Linked DNA regions of Homo sapiens: region 2 is linked to region 1. The links are contacts of gene promoters, found by promoter capture Hi-C in blood cells and fetal thymus (Javierre and others, 2016). All regions are on one chromosome and are shown on one strand. Each heading gives the region's core, a stretch centred on a gene start or on the middle of the fragment in contact. The rest is flanking DNA. Distances are from core to core; before and after follow the strand shown. Region 1 holds the start of BDKRB1-AS1 (BDKRB1 antisense RNA 1). Region 2 overlaps AK7 (adenylate kinase 7).

The links. Contacts are between HindIII fragments. The CHiCAGO score rates a contact against its expected background, and 5 or more counts as called.
Region 2: a fragment that was not itself captured here is called in contact with the fragment with the promoter of BDKRB1-AS1 in region 1 in 1 of 17 cell types (activated CD4 T cells); the score reaches 6.7 in activated CD4 T cells.

Annotation. Positions count from the first base shown.
Region 1 is chr14:96,265,533-96,270,961 of GRCh38, forward strand. It overlaps BDKRB1-AS1 (BDKRB1 antisense RNA 1), which reads right to left and starts at 3,048. Exons shown (of 2, transcript XR_007064322.1): 1 at 2,837-3,048. RefSeq lists an enhancer at 3,123-4,322. The HindIII fragment of the contact is 7,907 bases long and covers 93-5,429 here.
Region 2 is chr14:96,436,825-96,442,330 of GRCh38, forward strand. AK7 (adenylate kinase 7) reads left to right here. Exons shown (of 18, transcript NM_152327.5): 6 at 1,011-1,091. Among named protein-coding and RNA genes, the nearest start is that of AK7, 47 kb to the left of the region's middle. The HindIII fragment of the contact is 683 bases long and covers 1,408-2,090 here.

The sequences.
Region 1 (5,429 bases), core at 1,798-4,297:
AGTTTCTGGTAATTTGTCATAGCAGCAGCAGGAAACAAATAACAAGTATCGGGTAATGGCCTCTCTTATTACACTTCCATTTGTCTATTCAAAGCTTTCTAGGCTAACTGCCAGGAATACAGGGATGGTATAGCTAGAAGTTCTATATTCAAGGAACTTACATACATCTAAATATTATAATATAAAAAATGAAATGAGAAATTGCATGAACACACCACGGATCCAGCATCTTGCGCCTTCAGCGAGAAAGGGGATGGGTTCCCTCTCAGGTTAGCAGAGAAGACGCTGTGAAGGGAGTCAGCCGTGAGCCTGGTTTCCACAAAGGGTGCAATCTGGATACGTGGAGACAGGGAGGAAGGGCTGGCAGAGGCGGGAAAGGGTGAGCTGCTCACAAAAGAATGCTTGTGCATGCTCTTATTGAACGTGTAATGCATTGGTGCGGGTCTTGCTATGAGAGACCCAACGGTGAGCCTAACGGTGTCTCTACCCTCCAGGGGCTCACAGCAACCAGGACAATAATTAAGGGATTGTCATAGAGCAGGATGCCCGCCACCATCAGGGTGAGGGGTGCCGTGAGAACCAGAGCAGGGCTCCAGTCTGGGTGGCTGGGAGGGATGGTTAGAGAGGGGTTCCTGGAGGAAGAGACACATAAACTGAATCCCAAAAAATGAGAAGCTGGCCAAGCAAAATGGGGGAAAGGAGTGTTCCAGACAGAAGGAACAAAGTAGGCCCAGAGGCAGGTGGGGTTACAGGTTAGGAGGGAGAGGTTGAAGGATGGCAGAGGAGGAGGCGGGTCATGGAGAGAATTGGGGCTGGAGGAGAATGGACAGGCTGGGTCCACCATGGTCAGCTGGCAAAGACAGTTCACCCAGGAAGGATGGTGGGCTCCAGGCAGCTTTGAGGGCCCCATTGAAGCTGGAAAGCGTGGCTGTGTTGTGTGAATTTACTCTGATAATGCTCGACAGACCCAGGAAAGGATTGCTCTGGAGTAGGGTTTAGCCAGATAGACGGCCATACGTCATGGGAGTTGGGGATCCTGGTCAGACTCGGGGGAATGATGGAGAGGGAAGAAACGAGCACAGGGAGAGAAGGAAGTGAAGTGAGATCAGTGTGTTAAAGGATGGATATAGTGAGAGAACCTGGGTGACAGCAAGAAACAGAAGAAGAGCCAGGCGTGATCTTCTGTACACTGTGAAGGGAATCAGCCGTGAGCCTGGTTTCCACAAAGGGTGCAATCTGTAATCCCAGCACTTTGGGAGGCTGAGACAGGTGGATGGCTTGAGCCCGGGAGTTTGAGACCAGCCTGGGCAACATAGCAAGACCCCGTCTCTACAAAAAATACAAAAATTATCCAGGCGTGGTAGTGCGCACCTGTAGTCCCAGCTACTTGGGAGGCTGAGGCAAGAGGATCATCTGAGCCCAGGAGGTCAGGGCTACAAGCAGTGAGCCAAGATTGTGCCACTGCATTCCAGCCTGGCTGACAGAGTGAGACCCTGTCTCATTAAAAGAGAGAGAGGAAGGCATAGCCACAGAGCAGGAATGTTTGAGTAGAACATTCCAGAGGCAGAGCCATCTCAGGAGATGACAAGGACCAAGTGTATCCCTGGCACCAGGTGGCTGAAGTAGAGGGAAGAAGAAGGAGGTTGGAGACAACATAGAGAATGGAGAGGTCAGGTGGTGGGTGGGCCCTACCTGGGCCCTCACAGGCAGGCGGGACATTGTCAGGCCCTGGGGAGGAGAGAGTCCGTGGGCCAGGAGGCCATTCCAAGGTCAGTTTCCATGGAGTGGGGGAGAGGGTGTAGTGACTGGACTCCAAGACACTTGGGGGAATGGGGAGAATGGCAGTCCCCACAGCTGCACGGGAAGGGCTGGTCCTCACAGAATAGCAGCAAAGACTCATTCATTCCAGGAATGGAAAGAATGCCATGTTCTTGGAGCCTGGAGACAGGGTTTGAGAGGCTGGCAGCGGCTGGGCCACCAGGACCTCATCAGTGATAACCCTGTGATCAGTGTTCCAGCCCCTGCAGGTTTCCTGGAGAGCAGAGTGTCGTCAGAAGGCCTGGAGCTGAGCCAACAGGCAAGATCCAGCCTGCACATGTGTTTAATTTGAACCACATGGTATTTTTTAAAACTCCAAGCCCCCAGGCTCTTGAGTTGGTTACCAGTACTGAAACTCCCCATTGGGAGCCAGCTTTCCAGTTTCTTTTGAAAGTTTGGAACATCCAGCAACACTGATTCAATTTCATTCATTCAGCAGATATTTATTAAGCATCTACTTTGTCAGACACTGTTTTGGGCACTGAAAATATGGCAGTGAACAAAAGAGAGGAACATCCCTGGGCCCTTGGAGTTGACCTTCCAGGGTCCCCCCGGGGCTCCAATTCTTTGGTGCTGTGTAGCAGAGGCCCCGTGAACAGGGCGCCCTCCCATCAGGTTCACACGCATGGAAGCTATGGGAGGTTAAGTTTGCAACCCCTCATCCAGACCATCCCTTCACATACAGTCTAGGAAACAGAGAGCAGTAAGACCTGCCCAAGCACACCCAGTGCGACTCAGCAGCCACACACAGGAGTAGGCTCAGTCATCTCATTTAATCGCCTGACTCCCTTGTGAGGTCTGTTTCAGGATGTCCACTTTCTAGGTGAGGAAGAGGAGGCTAAGGAAGGCAGTGCCTGCTCAGACTGCAGAGGCTGGATTCACCCAACTCATCTGACTCCAACACCAATGTGATTTCCAAGCCCCCAGGCAGGAATTCATTGGGCAAAGGCTCTGTGGCAAAGTGGCAAAAGTAGGCAGGAACAGGCAGGAATAGAGAGTGGGAAAGGGAAAATAATACCTGATTCCTCTTCTATTCCGAGTGAGCTGACCCACATATGCCCTCCTTTCTTCTTTTTCAGCCGGCCTTAAGCAGGTGGCTTATCAAAATCCTTTCGAGGTCTTGCAAAAACCAATCCCACACTCGAGAAGAACGTGCTGGCCGGTGAAATCGGACAACATTGCTCACGGGATGTAATTCAATGGTAGACTGCAGCCACAGCCTGAGAACTCAGACACCTGATTTATGAGACGCACATAAGTAACGTTTACCGAAGCCCAGCAAATGGCCCCACAGTGGGAGAGAAACTGGCAAACCCGTACAGTAGAATTCTGTTGCCCTTCTGTGGGGAAGGCCAGTTATTCATTTACAGAGGGAGAAATTTCTGCCTTGACTAAAAGGATCGATGCTGTGGGAAAAGGTAATATATCTGAGTTCCCATGGATCTGGTTGATAGGTTCACCTGGCGTGTTCCATATGGGGCCAGGCCCAGGCCACACCTGTGGTGCTAACACCTGGGGTGGAGGGAGGAATTAGCAAATAGTCTTCCAGCATCCCCAGCTCCAGCACCCATGTGGGCTTCCACTCTCTCCCTGAGAAGGGCCAAGTAGAAAGAGAGAACAAGGTTTCACTCCAATCCGTTCCCAGCTCTGGGTCTGTCCTGGGCTCCAGAACCGCGTGATCAGGGGCCATATGTGGCCTTCACTGCTCTCTGCAGTGGGAAGGTAAGAAAACTGCCCCCACCCTGCCCCATCATCACCCCAATCCATCATGGGGAGTGGGTGGCACTAAGGCCCTCCAAATCCCAGCCTCGGGGAAACTCCCTGATGTTGCAATGGCCACAGGCAGGCTCTTGCTCTCCGGAGATGAGTCACAAATTTGATGAGGAGCAGGTCGGAAGCAGCCCTGGAAAGTGTTCCTCCCCACCCCTGCTCCCACCACAGCTCCGAGGAGCCTGGGCATCCAACCAGGGCTGATCCAAGCCTTGGCTCCGGCTGAGCTCCGCTCTGGCCTCTGTGCACCTTCAGCTCCTTCCTGCCCTTCTCTTTCCCTGTGCCCAGCCCCTTTCTCCAGACCCCCTTGATTCCTTCTCAGCATCCTCTTGCCTCCCCGGACCACCCCCAGCTCAGGCCCCTGCCCAAGAAGGGCCTCACCGCGGGGCTGCAGAGTGCACAGTGCAGCCGGTCAGAGGTCCAGGTCTCTGAGTCACACATGCCACTGTTCCAGTCCTCACTCCACCACCGCATGGGCCTGGCCGACCACCGAAACTCGGCATCCCATCTGTAAAATGGGAATGAGGAGAGCAGTGCCTCACTGTGTCGTTGTGAAAATTAAGTGACCCAAAAGGACGGCCTTATTCCCTTTTTGGAAAGAGGTAATGGGCAAAGAAAGGGAAGGAAAGGCGAGAAAGGACAAGAGGAAGGTCAGAGATGTATGTGAGACACCAGGACAGCGCCACCCCAGCAAGCACCAACAACCATTTTCTCCTATGAGCAGAAGAGGCTTTAACTATGACTGAAATGAATGCATGTCAAAGCACAGTCTGAATAAAATCCCAAAAATGGTGTCCGTGTCACTCTCCTGGTTGTGATATGGCACGATCCTTGTGTAAGATGTTACTATTGGGGGAAACTGAGTAAAGAATAATGGGGCCGGGCACAGTGCTCATGCCTATAATCCCAGCACTTTGGGAGGCCGAGACAGGCAGATCACATGAGCCCAGGAGTTCAAAGACCAGCCCAGGCAACATGGTGAAACCCTGTCTCTAGTAAAAATACAAAAATTAGCCAGGCATGGGGGTGCACACCTGTAGTATCAGGTACTTGGGAGAATGTGGTGGGAAAATCAGTAGAGCCCAGGGTTCAAGGCTGCAGTGAGCCATGATTGTGCCATTGCACTCCAGCCTGGGCAATAAAGTGAGACCCTGTCTCAGAAAAAAAAAAAAAAAAAGAATGAGTACAAGGCATCTTTCTTATCACTGTATGCAAATCTACTAAAAACCTTAAAAAGAATGCATCATTAAGTTCAACCACTCTGCCTTACAGATGAAGAAACCAAGGTCCAGAGACAAGCAGACTTGTCCAAGGTCACCGAGTAAGCAGGGCTCCTGCTGAAGGGCTCTGTTCAGACCCAAGATGCCCGCTGGGCCCTGGTGACAGGTCTCAGTCTCAGGCTGAGGTCAGAGAAGAGGCCTGAGTGCCAGGGTTCTCATTTGAGTGGCCATGATGATTGCAGAGACTCCCTATGGCCAGGATTGTGTTTAAGGCAGTAAACAGGAAGCCAAGCCTACTTTTCAGGAGCTTCAGGGGACAGAAAACTATCAGGAAGGATTGGTTGGGACCCAGCAAGTACGAGAGGAAGACATTTCAGGGCTTCAGTCAACAAGGGGCTCAGTGTACTGTAGCTGCCAAAATAGCTGCCAGCTCTCAGCTGCATTCAAAGGAGTATAGCCTCTAAAATGAGGAAGGTCATATTCCCTTAATTTAGCACTGGACAGGGTCCATTAGGAGTATTGTGTCCAGCTCTTGGCTGATTCCAAAGACAGGGATCAGACTGGTGAGAGGATGCAACAGCACACCCTCCAGACACATGGCGGCAGAGGGCTTACCACAGA
Region 2 (5,506 bases), core at 499-2,998, 170 kb after region 1:
TCACCTTCCTCATGCCCTGAGACTTACAGCAGCAGGCCGCCATGTGGAGGAGTCCCTCGCTGTCCAGTGTGGCCTGGGACTGGTTGGAAAAGTTCATCTTATTCTGGATTCAGGGTTAGGAAGCTCATCATCATGGCTCACCTAAGGCATGGCCTCCAGCAGAACTCATATCAATAATAAAGATGGTATTTTGAGCTTATCTGGTTAAATATTGAGGCAGAGAGTAGAGGCTGAGAAGGGTAGTAGGGGGTGGGGGGAGGGAGGGATAGTGAATGAGTACAAAAAATGTTGGAAAGAATGAATAAGACCTACTATTTGATAGCACAGCAGGGAGACTATAGTCAGTAATAACTGAACTATAGATTTTTAAATAACTTAAAGAGTATAATTGGAGTGTTTGTAATTCAATGGATAAATGCTTGAAGGGATGGATACCCCATTCTCCATGTTGTGCTTATTTCACATTGCATGCCTGTATCAAAACATCTCATGCACCCCCATAAATCTATATACTTATTATGTACCCACAAATATTAAAAATTAAAAATAAAGGAATACTGACTCCAGTTCTTACAGTGCCTAAACTGCTTGTCCAGAGTGAAGTGGACAATCCATGTGAATTTCCATCCTTGTGTTAAGGCCCATTACCAGCTTCTTGGTTTCAGGTACTAGATCATTAAAGATCCTCGTGGAAAGACCTGTTTTTCTTTCTCTTTTCCCCCTCAGTGCCGAGCATAGAGCTTACAGGTACAAAGTTTTCACAAAAACCCTGGCTTTAATTTAATTAGGAGTCCTTGTTAAATTTTAATAGTAGTCAGAGGTATTCCTGAATAGTGCGGGGGTGTCGTTTCTCTCTTTAAGAGATAGGATTTGTATCCCGAACAATACTCAGTAACCTGCAAGAGTTGACGGAAGTTCTGAAAGTGCTCATTTTAACTACTAAAATAATCTGGTTCAGTATGACTAATAATATTACATCCAGCTTTTTTTTTCTGTATTTTATCTAATAGGCCAGAAAATTTGCAGCATACGTAGTTGCTGCTGGACTCCAGTATGGAGCGGAAGGAGGCATGTTACACACATTTTTTAAGGTATGGCTTTCAATGATGACGTGGAATGTTTAAAAGTGTCTTACGATACAGATACGCAATTTGAAGGTGTTTTTGATTGCTTTGGGTGTGGTTAGTGCAGTAGAATAGCAGAAGATGAAGGCAAGTATGGATGTCACCACAAAGACCTACGTTTCTTTCCCATTATTAACTTGTATTCACCACTCTCAAAATAATAATGAAAAAGACGTATCTCCTTTCATTCATGAAACAGATATTGATGTAGTGCCCATCAGGTGCTGGAAACTGTTGTAGGTACTTGGGATACAGTAAAATAATAAAGTCCCTCCTCTTGCGAAGCTTACATTCTAGGGGGATGGAGAAAGAGATAGATAATAAGCAAGCCGGTAAATGTTGAGTATTTCAGATGTTGAAACAGGGTATGGAAAACAACAGAGCAGAGAAAGGCAGAGAGTGCTGGGGAGTAAGGTTGCGGGGATTGGGGCTGTTATATCTTATATAGGAAGGTTGAGGAAGGTCTTTCCAACGATGTGACATTTGAGTAGGAAGGGAAAGGCAATGAAGGAGCTGGCTAATCGGCTTTCTGGAGAAAGACATCCCAGACAGTGAGAATTGTTACTGCAAAGAAGTGAGGCAGAAATGTGCTGGCTACATTTGAAGACCAATCTAGATCAATCTAGCTGAAGTATGGGAGAACAGCGGTAATGAGGTCAAAGCGGTAATGAGAGAGTCAGACCAAGCCCAGCCTGGTAGCCCCTCGTGAAGCTCTGGCTTTCTTTCTGAGTGAGTTGGACAACCATTAGACTGAGCACAGAAGCAACATAATCCATATGATATAAAAGGACAGCTTTCTCCTTCTGCTGTGCTGAGGATGTACTATTTGGGGCATGGGCAGGAGCAGGAAGCAAGGAAACCAGTGAGCAGGGTAGTGCCTAAGACCTGGGTGGGCATGGTGGGGATACTGGAAACTGTTCAGATTTCAGACGTATTTTGAAGAGAGAGTCAATGGGATTTGTTCAAAGCTTGGATGTAAGGATGACAGAAACATAGTAAAGGATAACTTTAAGGATTTTGGTCTAAGCAACTAGAAGTATGGCACTGCCACTTATTGAAATGGGGAAGACAGGGAATGGAGCTGGTTGGGGTACAATGCAATGAAAAGTTCAGGAAGTTTGAGATAATTAATATCCAAGTATAGATACTGGGAAGGCTATTGGACAAAAAGAGTTTGGTGATCATGGGGGAGGTCAGGTCTGGAGATATAATCATGGGAGCTGTCAGTATACAGTGGGTACTTAAATCCTTGGGACTGGATGACATCAACTACTGAATGAATATGGAGAAGAGATAGGGGCCTGAGGACTGAGTCTTGGAACCCTCCAATATTGGAGGTTATAGGGAAATGGGAAGGAATTAGGAAAGGAGGTTGAGAAGGGTGGGCAGGAAGCAGGAGAGGAAATAAGAGAAAAGTAAATAATTATTAAAAAAAATATTTTTGGCCGACTCACGCCTGTAATCCCGGCACTTTGGGAGGCCAAGGCAGGCGGATCACAAGGTCAGGAGATCAAGACTATCCTGGCTAACACGGAGAAACCCCGTCTCTACTAAAAATACAAAAAATTAGCCGGGCATGGTGGCGGGAGCCTGTGGTCCCAGCTACTCGTTAGGCTGAAGTAGGAGAATGGTGTGAACCGAGGAGGCGGAGCTTGCAGTGAGCCGAAATTGCACCACTGCACTCCAGCCTGGGTGACAGAGCGAGACTCCATCTCAAAAAAAAAAAAAAAAAAGTTTTTAAAAAGAAAGAATGACAAATTGTGTCAGATACTGCAGATAATCAACTAAGATGAAACCTACAAATTGACCGCTAAATTTTTTGGCACTAGGTAGGACAAAAGTCTAACAGCCGCAGGTTCAAGAGGAACAGCTGGAGGGGAATTGAAGACAATGAGAACAGAGAAATATTTCAAGGAATTTTCCTGTAAAAGGAGGGGGGTGCAAAGAAAGAAGGCGGAGTTAAAGGATAAAGTGTAGTCAAGAGAGGTTGGTTGAACTGATTTTTAATTTTTATTTGATTTATTTATTATGTATTTATTTATTTAAAGAAGGAGTCTTACTCTTTCACCCAGGCTGGAGTGCAGTGGTGCAATCTCAACTCACTGCAATCTCCACCTCCTGGGTTCAAGCAGTTCTCCTGCCTCAGCCTCCCGAGTAGCTGGGATTACAGGTGTGTGCCACCATGCCCAGCTAATTTTTGTATTTTTAGTAGAGACAGGGTTTCACCATATTGGCCAGGCTGGTCTTGAACTCCTGACTTCGTGATCCGCCCGCCTCAGCCTCCAAAGTGCTGGGATTACAGGCGTGAGCCACCGTGCCCGGCCTCGAACTGATTTTTTTAATACAAGAGATATGACAGTTGCAGAGGAGAAGCTCAAGGAAGCTCTTACTCATTGTCCATTCTCAGCTACTTCTCACCTACCTGCTCACTGAATCTTGGCATTCGCAGGCCTCGGCCCTAGACCTTTTTTCTTCACCCTCTGCTCTCTCTCCCTTGGTCTGTTTATTCCTATGACTGATACCAATGACTCAAACTTCAGTCTCCAGCGAGGCTCTCTCTCCTAAGTTCTAGCTCTGTAGGTCCAGCTGCCTACTCAGCACCTCAACTTGGATGTCTTTCCCAAATCCAAACTATACCTACAGTCATCCCCAAACCTGCTCCTCCTCCAAGGCCCCATCTCAGAAAATGGGGTAACCCTCCAACCAGCTACATGATCAGAATCCAACTCCTCCCTCCTTACTGCAAACCAAAAAGTTTCTGAGACAGGTCTCAATCAATTTAGAAGTTTATTGTGCCAAGGTTAAGGATGCACGCCCAGGAGATAGGCCTGTGCCTTTCTCCAAAGATGACTTTGAGTGCTTCAATATTTAAAGGGAAAAGGGTAGATATTAGAGAAAGAGGAAGAAATTTTTTAAAGATGTGGGTAAGCCAGGCATGGTGGCTGATGCCTATAATCCCAGTAAAGCACTTTCGGAGGCCAGTGTGAGTGGATGGCTTGAACCCAGGAGTTTGAGACCAGCCTGGGCAACATGGTGAAACCCTGCATCTGCAAAAAATAAATAAAAGGTGTGGGTAGATAAGAGGCAAGCGGGCACATTCTTTTGAGTCTTTGATCAGCTGTTCGACATGAGGGAAGGGTAGAGGAATAGTCACTTATGCATTTATCTAGCTCAGCGAATCTGCATTTTTATGTAAGATAAAATAGACATAGGGCCGAGGAAGCAATCAGATAGGCATTTGTGTCAGGTGAGCCTAGGGATGACTTTGAGTTCTGTCCTTGTCCTGTACCTGTGAAGATAAGCTGTCAATTTACATTGTCAGGGTGAAATTCAACAGAACTGTTTTCGGGTAAAGCTCTTGGGGCCTACAGATAATTTCATAGTGGGCAAATTGTGAGGAAGGTATGAGGCCAGGCATGGTGGTTCACGCCAGTAATCCCAGCATATTGGGAGGCTGAGGCGGGTAGATCACCTGAGGTCAGGAGTTCGAGACCAGCCTGGCCAACATGGTGAAATCCCATCTCTATTAAAAATACAAAAATTAGCCAGGTGTGGTGGCACATGCTTGTGATCCCAACTATTCGGGAAGCTGAGGCAGGAGAATCACTTAAACCTGGGAGGCAGAGGTTGCAGTGAGCTGAGATCCTGCCACTGCACTCCATCCAGCCTGGGTGACACAGCAAGACTCCGTCTCAAAAAAAAAAAAAAAAAAAAGAAAACAAAATAAAATCTTTGAATGAGAGACAGGTTTGCTTTATGTAGTTCCTAGCTTGACTTTTCCCTTTGGCTTAGTGATTTTGGGGTCCCAAGGTTTATTTTCCTTTCACATTACCCATCATAAAATTCCCAGTTACTACAGTCAGCCTCCTCAATGTCTCCCTTCTCTCCATCCCCACTCCCTGCACTTCCCACCTCCAGGCTAAGCTACCCTATTTCGCCTGCACACCTGCCATCACCCCTCTGTCCCCACTGGACTCTCCTTCCCGCCACTTCTCCACAAGGCAACAAAAGCAAGCCTGCTGGTGTCACATCACTGCTTAGAACCCTTCAATACTTTCTGAAAGTCCAAAATATCTTACAAGACCCAGTGGTCTACTGTGACCCCTACCCCTACCTCTTTCACTCTTAACAACAATTCAAAATAATCTAATATGTGACACTTAAACAGTACTCATCATGTCTGTTTGGTTACTGAAATACTTAATGAGAAGAAAAGATGAGGATTTGGACTCTGAGGATCGGGGTTCCAGTCCAAGCTCTCACAAGTGTATCCTCCTGCATGCTACTTATCCGCTAAGCATTTCACCCCTGGACTGATGGTACTTATTTCCCCTCACCTCATCCCTACTGGTGGGGGTAATTTTAAATTTTAATTTGTCTTT